Linked DNA regions of Homo sapiens: regions 1 and 2 are each linked to region 3. Evidence: promoter capture Hi-C in 16 types of primary human blood cells and fetal thymus (Javierre and others, 2016). All regions are on one chromosome and are shown on one strand. Each heading gives the region's core, a stretch centred on a gene start or on the middle of the fragment in contact. The rest is flanking DNA. Distances are from core to core; before and after follow the strand shown. Region 1 has its middle 11 kb from the start of RTL8A. Region 2 has its middle 57 kb from the start of RBMX. Region 3 holds the start of SLC9A6 (solute carrier family 9 member A6).

The links. The method cuts DNA at HindIII sites, captures the fragments that hold promoters and counts their contacts. A CHiCAGO score of 5 or more calls a contact.
Region 1: a fragment that was not itself captured here is called in contact with the fragment with the promoter of SLC9A6 in region 3 in 1 of 17 cell types (neutrophils); the score reaches 5.0 in neutrophils.
Region 2: a contact is called between a fragment that was not itself captured here and the fragment with the promoter of SLC9A6 in region 3, in 1 of 17 cell types (activated CD4 T cells). The highest score is 5.1, in activated CD4 T cells.

What each region holds. Positions count from the first base shown.
Region 1 is chrX:135,061,581-135,064,386 of GRCh38, forward strand. No RefSeq gene overlaps it. Among named protein-coding and RNA genes, the nearest start is that of RTL8A, 11 kb to the left of the region's middle. The HindIII fragment of the contact is 5,064 bases long and covers 1-2,806 here.
Region 2 is chrX:136,935,874-136,938,999 of GRCh38, forward strand. No RefSeq gene overlaps it. Among named protein-coding and RNA genes, the nearest start is that of RBMX, 57 kb to the left of the region's middle. RefSeq lists an enhancer at 1-4. The HindIII fragment of the contact is 9,577 bases long and covers 1-3,126 here.
Region 3 is chrX:135,983,999-135,986,920 of GRCh38, forward strand. SLC9A6 (solute carrier family 9 member A6) reads left to right here and starts at 1,437. Exons shown (of 18, transcript NM_001379110.1): 1 at 1,437-1,479; 2 at 1,605-1,829. The coding sequence starts at 1,661. RefSeq lists a silencer at 1,328-1,567 and an enhancer at 1,718-1,837. The HindIII fragment of the contact is 4,728 bases long and covers 1-2,922 here.

The sequences.
Region 1 (2,806 bases), core at 35-2,534, 920 kb before region 3:
CCCCGTATCAGCCCCTAAAAGTGAAACTGTGTCCATTGTGGGTAGCTGATGGAGATGGGGGAACAATCAGAGTATATGTGCCATTTACTGTATCAAATTTGGCTTTATGCAAGGAGAAATTTGGCTGGTTTTTGGAGGATCCATGGAAGTTTATAGAGGAGTTTGATACATTTACCATGTCCTCTGAAATAACTTGGCATAACTTGTGCTTATTATTATCCACTTGCTGTACCATAGACATAGAGGAGAAACAAAGGATTCTAGGTATTACCCATGAATTTTCAGATGGAGTGGCCAATAATATCCAAGGCCATGCCATTTATAATGTGGGGGGAGAGGCAGTTCCTTATTTGCACCCTCAATGGGATTCCCAGAGGGGTTCCCAAGATCTCAAACACAGAAATTACATGCTAACTTGTTTAGTAGAAGGTATGAAAAAGTGTGTGGTTAAACCAGTTAGTTGTGACAAGGTTAGAGAAGTAACTCAGGGAAAATATGAAAATGCCACTTTATTTCAAGGCCACTTAGTGGAGGCCCTCAGGAAATATACTAATGCAGATCCTGACTCTCTGGAAAGGTGAGCTCTCCTGGTCATGTATTTTATTACTCAAACTATCTCTGACATTAGGAGGAATTTACATAAGGCAGCAATAGAGCATCAAATCCCCATGAGCCAACTTTTAAATATGGCCTTTGGAATTTACAATAATAGGGACAAGGTGGAGAAAGAGGTGAAAACTAAAAGTAATAGCTAAAAAGTGCTATTATTCGTGGCTGCCTTAAGCCCCTTACTGCCTTAGGGTTACAAATGTCAAGAAAGTGTTACGAGAGTCGTGGTTGGGATGCCCAGATGAAAGCCTCTGACTTCTTGGCCCCTGGGCCAAAATCAATGTGCCTATAAGCAAGAGGAACACTGAAGGAAGGACTGCCCCAGGCTTGAAAGAGAGTCTGAACCACTCAGACCCATAATGGCTGAGAGAACAGAGGACTGACAGGGCCTGAGGTCTCTTATGGTTTCCAATGGACACCTTACTATCTCCATAGAGGAGCTTTGGGTAACTCTTGATGTGGCAGGCAAAAATAATGAGTTTTTGGTGGACATGGGAGCAGACTTCTCAGTTTCAACCTATTTCTCAGGGCCATTGTTTTCCCACTCTTGTACCATAATGTAGATTGATGGCCAGCCAAAAGTTAGGTGATTCACCCACCCCCTCAGTTACACTGTGGGGAATCATGTGTTTTCCCATATCTTTCTGCTTATGTCTGAGTGCCCTATTCCTTTACTGGGAAGAGACTAACTTTCCCAATTACAGGCCACAGCTCAATTTGGAGAGCCTTATGAGAAGGCAATAGGCCAGGGAAAGACACTTCTTCTAGCTCCAAGTACATGCCTTAACACAGATAAATAAAAGACCTCTCTTTCACTGCATCTTACTTCTCAAGTAGACCTCTCTGTTTGGGACATGAAAGTTCTTGGTAGAGATGTTAATGTACTCCCAGTCCAGGTTATTTTGAAACCCAGAGTTAAGTATCCATACAAAAAACAACGTACCTTGAGACCTGAAGAGCAGAGAGGCATTCAACCCCTAATAAGGAAGTTCCTAAAGTATGGATTACTACAGTCCCGTCAGTCCCTACGTAACACCTCCATTTTGGTTGTGAAGAAACTGAATGGGGAATACAGATTTGTTCAGAATCTGAGGGCAGTTAATGAGGCAATAGTCCCAGTCCACTGAATAGTTACTAATTCATACACAATATTGACCCAAGTCCCTGAAGATGTTAATAGTTCATGGTATTAGGCTTAAAGGATGCTTTCTTTTGTATACCTTTACACGTGGACACCCAGTATATCTTTGCTTTTGAATGGACTGATCCAGACATTCATGCTGCATCTCATCTTACGTGGGCTGTTCTTCCTCAAGGTTTTAGGGACAGTCCCCATTTCTTTGTCAATACATTGGCAAAAGAATTAAGGAAACTCTAGTTAAATAATGGGTCTCTTTAGCAATATATGGATGATCTATTAATTTCCAGCCCAACCAGGGAAGGCTGTGACAGGAACACAATCCAGATTCTTAATTTTTTTGAGAAGATGAGGTTATTGGGTATTCCTACAATAAAGCCCAAATTTCTGCACAAAAGGTTAAATATTTGGAGTATGTGTTAACTCCTGGGGCAAACACCCTGGCCCAGGAGTAAAAAGAGACCATCTTGGCACTCCAGCCCCCTCAGACTAAGAAACAATTAAGAATCTTTCTGGGAATGGCCAGATTCTTCTGGATTTGGAGTCCCAGGTTTGGGCTCATAGCAAAACCACTCTATGAAGCTCTAAAAGAGAGTGATCATGAGCCTTTGAATTGGGATGGAACCTGCCAACAGGCATTCTTAACCCTAAAAGAAAAATTGGGAACAGCCCCTGCTTTGTGACTCCCAAACTTAGAAAAACCTTTCACCCTATATGTGGCTGAAAAACAAGGGACAGCTTTGGGTGTTCTAACTCAAAGTCTCGTGAATAGCCCTATACCAGTGGCTTACTTTTCTAAACAGCTAGACCAAGTGGTGGCTGGGTGGCCAGGATGCTTTTGAGCTGTGGCCACCACCACTCTATTGGTAGAAGTCAGTAAGTTTACCTTGGGACAACAATTAGATGTAATGACCTGCCCCCATCAAATACAGGGGATCCTAGAGGCAAAAGGACACCAATGTCTAACAGTGGTTCAATTACTTAAATGTCAGGTTCTTCTATGTGACACCGCAGATGTTACTTTTAAAATATGTTGTTTTAAATCTTGCTACCCTGTTG
Region 2 (3,126 bases), core at 6-2,505, 950 kb after region 3:
GTGGGCAAGTTCCAAAGACCAGTCTTACCAAGTTTCAGATGTCCAGACTTAAAGTGCCAGTTCCTTCCCAGTGTTCAGCCACTGCATTGGTCCTTCATGTGGGCTTGCCATGCACCGCTCTGATGAGGCGTTGTACCGGGGCAAATGCCTGCCTGGGAGCGCTCATCAGGATCTACATTGCTCAAGCTGGCCGGAGTCCCCCACAGGGATGCTCTACAGGGCAGGCATAAGCTGCCTAAGGGGCTGTGTCGACCGTCCATTAATCACCTCGCTTCCCGGTCAGGGAACCAAGAAATGTAGCAGGACAAGCTGCAGACAAAACTCCTCAGACATCAGATTAAAGAAGGAAGAGGTTTATTCAGCCAGGAGCATCAGCAGACTTGTGTCTTAAGAGCCAAGCTCCCTGAAAAAGAAATTCTTGGCCTTTTTAAAGGCTTACAACTCTTAAGAGGTCCACATGAAAAGGTCATGATAAATTGAGCAAGTGTGGGGAACGTGACTGGGGGATACATGCATCAGCTAACAGAACAGAAAGTTTTGCAATACTTTTTCATACAATGTCTGGAATTTACAGATAACACAAGTAGTTTAGGTCAGGGGTTGATGTTGTTATTATTACTTTTTTAACTCCTAGGGCCGGGTAGTGGTGCCAAGGTTGTCTGGCTATTTATCTTACTTTTGTTTCTTTCCAACTTTTTGCTTTGTCTTTTCTCCTGTCTTGTGAACTAGGCAAGGTAGGGGGAGGAGGGCAGCAGGAGTAGTAGTGGTCTCCTTCCTTAGAATGACCCAGACAGAGTTCTTAATTTTGTGATGTACTGGGGAACACAATTTACTAGGGGATATAAATGTGTAAATACACCAACTACAATTTGATGTAAGTGACAATAGAGATATGAGCTGAGTGCTGTGAGAACACAGTACAGAATTCTCTTTAGTAATTTAGCAGGTTAGAAGTAGAGGCTGTCGCGTGTGATGAGTCTGGAGAGATAGGTGGGATCCAGATACTGAAGGACCTTTACCTATTACATTGAGTACTTAGTTTATGCCGAGCAGTGGTTGATATACTTTGCCTGAGTTGATTTAATCCTCACAGCATCCTGTGGGTACTGTTACCATCTTTACATTACAGGTACAGAAACTGATACACTAAGAGGTTACAACATGGCAAAGATCACACAAGCTAGTACAGAACATATCTGAGCTTTGAATATAGGTAGTTTTATTTTTTTCTTGTTTTTTTTTTTTTGAGACCTAGTCTCACTCTTGTCACCCAGGCTGGAGTGCAGTGGCATGATCTCACTCACTGCAACCTCTGCCTCCCGGGTTCAAGCAATTCTTCTGCCTCAGCCTCCCGAGTAGCTAGGATTACAGGCATGTGCCACCATGCTTGGCTTATTATTTTGTATTTTTAGTAGAGATAGGGTTTCACAATATTGGCCAGGCTTGTCTCAAACTCCTGACCTTGTGATCCGCCCGCCTCAGCCTCCTAACATGCTGGGATTATGGGCGTGAGCCACCACACCTGGCTTTTTTTTTAAAAATTGAGACGGAGTCTTGCTCTGTCACCCAGGTTGGAGTGCAGTGGCGCGATCTCGGCTCACTGCAACCTCTGCTTCCTAGGTTTAAGCAATTCTCCTGTCTCAGCCTTCTGAGTAGCTGGGATTACAGGTGCATGCCACCACGCCCGACTACTTTTTATATTTTTATTGGAGAGAAGGTTTTGCCATGTTGGCCAGGCTGGTCTCAAACTCCTGACCTCGTGTGATCTGCCCCCCTCGGCCTCCCAAAGTGCTGGGATTACAGCTGTGAGCCACTGCCCAGCCGAATATATGTAGGTTGACTATGGATCTACATCCCTAACCACTATGCTGTGCTTTTTCTCTCTAGTAGTATGGATATACTTTCTTACTAGCGTATGCAAATCTACTAGCTGTATTTTATTTCTCTGTGTGGTTTTACTATAATTTATTTAACTGGATTGATAGAGATTGTTGGTTGTTTCTAGTTTTTAGCAGTTACACATAGTGCTTTAGTGAGGAGTATTTACTTCCCACCTCAAGCTGATTGGGGCACACTCTCACATGATCACTCTTCCCTTCTTCATCATTACTGTATTAAATGATCTCCAAAATTCCTTCAGGGCCATCACCCTAAATTCTGAGATTTGCAGAGCCATAATTCTTAATCTCAAGAGCTGTATATATTGTAGATTACTTAATGTGGTAATTGTCAAGGCTCGTTTGTACTTTTTTTTTTTTTTTGAGATGGAGTCGTCTTTTGTTGCCCAGGCTGGAGGGCAGTGGCACGATCTCGGCTCACTGAAACCTCCGCCTCCTGGGTTCAAGAAATTCTCCAGCTTCAGCCTCCCGAGTAGCTGGGACTACAGGCACGTGCCACTGCGCCCAGCTCATTTTTATATTTTTAGTAGAGAAGGGGTTTCACCATGTTGGCCAGACTGGTCTTGAACGCCTGACCTCAAGTGATCTGCCCACCTCGGTCTCCCAAAGTGCTGGGATTACAGGCATGAGCCACTGCACCCAGCGAATTTTCGTATTATTATTATTATTTTTATTTTTTAGTAGAGACAGTGTTTTGCTGGTCTCGAACTCCTCGGTCTCCCAAAGTGCTGGGATTACAGGCATGAGCCACCGCACTCAGCTGTACTCATTTTCTAAGGATTGAAGGCCTGGGTGACATATTAGTTAACATGTATTGAAGGTTTCCTATACCAAGCATTCTACTAAGTACTTTACATGCATTATTCTAATTGTCTCAGCAATCCTGTGAGCAATTATATATATTGTCCCTCTTCTTAAAATGAAGAAACTGCTGGGCGCGGTGGCTCACGCCTGTAATCCTGGCACTTTGGGAGGCCGAGACGGGCAGATCACGAGGTGAGGAGATCAAGACCATCCTGGCTAACGCGGTGAAACCCCGTCTCTACTAAAAATACAAAAAATTAGCTGGGCGTGGTGGCAGGTGCCTGTAGTCCCAGCTACTCGGGAGGCTGAGGCAGGAGAATGGTGTGAACCCAGGAGGCGGAGCTTGCAGTGAGCTGAGATCACGCCACTGCACTCCAGCCTGGGAGACAGCGAGACTCTGTCTCAAAAAAATAAAAATAAATAA
Region 3 (2,922 bases), core at 187-2,686:
CACTGGCTCTGATTTGGGACAGTTCCTGACCTGACAGGGACAGAAAGTGGAATTGGACATCGTTTGAGTGCTTTTTTTGTTTAGCTCATCATCCTGAGAGCTTAGAGAGCTGGTTAGTGAGGGTGAATACACACAGGGGCAGCTTGGAGTTGCCTGAGTATTACTTGTTTTAGCAAGGAGGTTATATGGCCATGAGATGGAAAGAACCATTTGAGAATCATGAGTTCCAGGCAGAATGATAGGAATTGAACTGACAGTGGTACCACTGATGGTATGAAGAATTTGAGAAGGAATTTGTACTTGCAGGGGGAACTCATTTCAAATGAGCTCATTTCAAAATATTTTTAGTTTTGAGGGTGGTAGGAGCCTCAACAGGGTATGCTCAGAATCCAACAGGTAGAGGCCTGAAGTTGGGGCAGCAGGCCAGGGCTTGAGACTTGTAGATCATTCATGTTGAAATCAAAGTCTTGAGAAAACAAAGAGCCCACACAAACTAAGGAGCGATCGGAGAAATACAGAAAAAATAGGAAGTCACTGTTCTCAAAAGACAAAGCTCCAGTATGGAGGTGAGAACTGTGAAAATTCTGGTGAGAGAGGTTGGACAGGCTGAGAACAGAAAAAAAATACTGTCCTGAGGAATACTAAAGAGGAGAGATGAGAGATAGGGGTCAAGGGTGACTTCGGAGCTGGGGACATTTGCTTTAAAACAGCAGTAAAAAGGAGCAAGAGGAGAAGGAGAAATCCACCACACCACCCAAGATTTTTTCTTCGGGAGGGAAGTGTTTACGAGCATTGGGAAATCTAAGCACAAACCGATCCAATCTTTGCTGTAAGGTTGATGAGTTTCTGTGTACAGATTCCTAGCGTGAGAGATGACTTATATCAGATGTTTACATGTAAAGAAAACCGACTACACAGACACACACATAATCCATACCTTTGAGTCGATTGTTTTATGAACTGCTACAGTGCTCTGTGTGTGTGTGGTGTTTTTTTGTGTTTTTTTTTTTTTCTTTCCCGATGAGGACAATACAAGGAGAATCCGATTTAAATTTAAATTACAGAGATGGAGATTGAGGCTCCTCCCAAGGGGACAACTTATCCTGTTAAGAGACACTGGGGGACGATATTGAGATGGGTTATGAAAGATCAATTCCTATGAAAGATCAATTCCCCTGAGAGCTCTGAGAATAGGATCAAAGTAGAAAGCGCAGTCTGCCTCTGCTTGGTTACACTGAGCCGATGTTTCTTTAGCCAAAGGCAGTGGGCTAGTTTAGACGGCCTTTCATTCCCGGCAGCGCCTGTGGGTGCGTGTGACCTGGGACAGAGGGGCAAAGGAACCTGGCAGAGCGAGCTTGGGATGCCGCGGCCCCTTTAAGAGCGGCGGCGGCGGCGCGCGCTCCGACGGCTACCCCCGGGCCCCGCCCCTTTCCCGTGAGCCCTCGGGGAGTGGTCCGACCGCGGGCGGCCGCCGGTGAGGTAGGGGCGGGAGGCGGGGGGAGACATGGCTCGGCGCGGCTGGCGGCGGGCACCCCTCCGCCGTGGCGTCGGCAGCAGTCCCCGAGCCCGCAGGCTCATGCGGCCCCTTTGGTTGCTCCTCGCAGTGGGCGTCTTTGACTGGGCAGGGGCTTCGGACGGCGGCGGCGGAGAGGCTAGAGCCATGGACGAGGAGATCGTGTCCGAGAAGCAAGCCGAGGAGAGCCACCGGCAGGACAGCGCCAACCTGCTCATCTTCATCCTGCTGCTCACCCTCACCATTCTCACAATCTGGCTCTTCAAGCACCGCCGGGCCCGCTTCCTGCACGAAACCGGCCTGGCTATGATTTATGGCAAGTTCCTCAACCCTTGTCAGCCCCTTGGCGCTGCCCCTTTCTCTGCCCGCCGGCTGCTTCGCCTCCTCTGCTGGCCCTGCTCGGCCTACGTTCGGCTCCCCTTCTAATTCCTTCCATTTTCTGCCTCGCCTTCCCCCTACCCCGCGTTTCTCTGCCTCACCCCCTTTCCTCTTCAGCCTCGCGCCCCATTTTATCTGCCTCTCCACACCTTTTTCGCTTCCGACCCCACCCCCTTTTTCCTCCGCACCCCCAGCCCCCCACCCTTTCCCTGCCTACCAAGCTCGGGACCCGGGGCTGAGGATGGAAAACGAGTGGGCGCGGTGTCTGGAATTGGGCTGGGGGCTGGGGGAGGGGAGACACCATTGCGATCCATTTCTCTGGGGTGTCAGTTTGTTTAAGGTTCATTGAAACTGCAGTAGTATCTCTACTGCCCAGAATCTGGCGTTCTTTTGGAGCCAGAGTCGACCTTTACTCAACACCTAGCTCCTGCTACGCCCTGTCCTTTCGAGGTTGCAAAGGAAAATCTTATTCTTGTGGAGTCCGAAAAAAAAAACCCGAACGTGAAATAGGCTACAGAAGGCTTAGGGCATTTTTAATGACATCCCATTTATTGTACTATGCCTCTAATATCTGATATGGATACCTGTGGTTGACCCTTCCAATTCAGGCATACAAAAGTGAGGACGAGGAAGAGTTAAGGTCCTTCCAGAAGTATAGTGTACTATACGATGATCAGGACAGTTCAGACAAACAGTAATTACAAACACCATGCATATGCAGTATGGGTGACTTGCTGTTGGCATGAGGTTATTGACCGATTGTAGAATAAATGGCTTCGATTCTTGTGTCTCAGTCTGCTTTCTGAGGTTTATTATTATTATTATTATTATTATTTTGGTGACAAGGCGAGAAGGGGTAAATCAAAGTGTGGGCTCAGAGGCATTTTGAGCTGTGCTGGGGCCTCAAGAGGAGAAAAGATACATATTGCCGACTGTATTAATCTGTGCGGGTATTGCTAAAGAGATGAGGGCGGACAAACAATTCTTTCTGTGCAGTACATGTGTGAAGATTATCTTCATTTGGAGCAGTT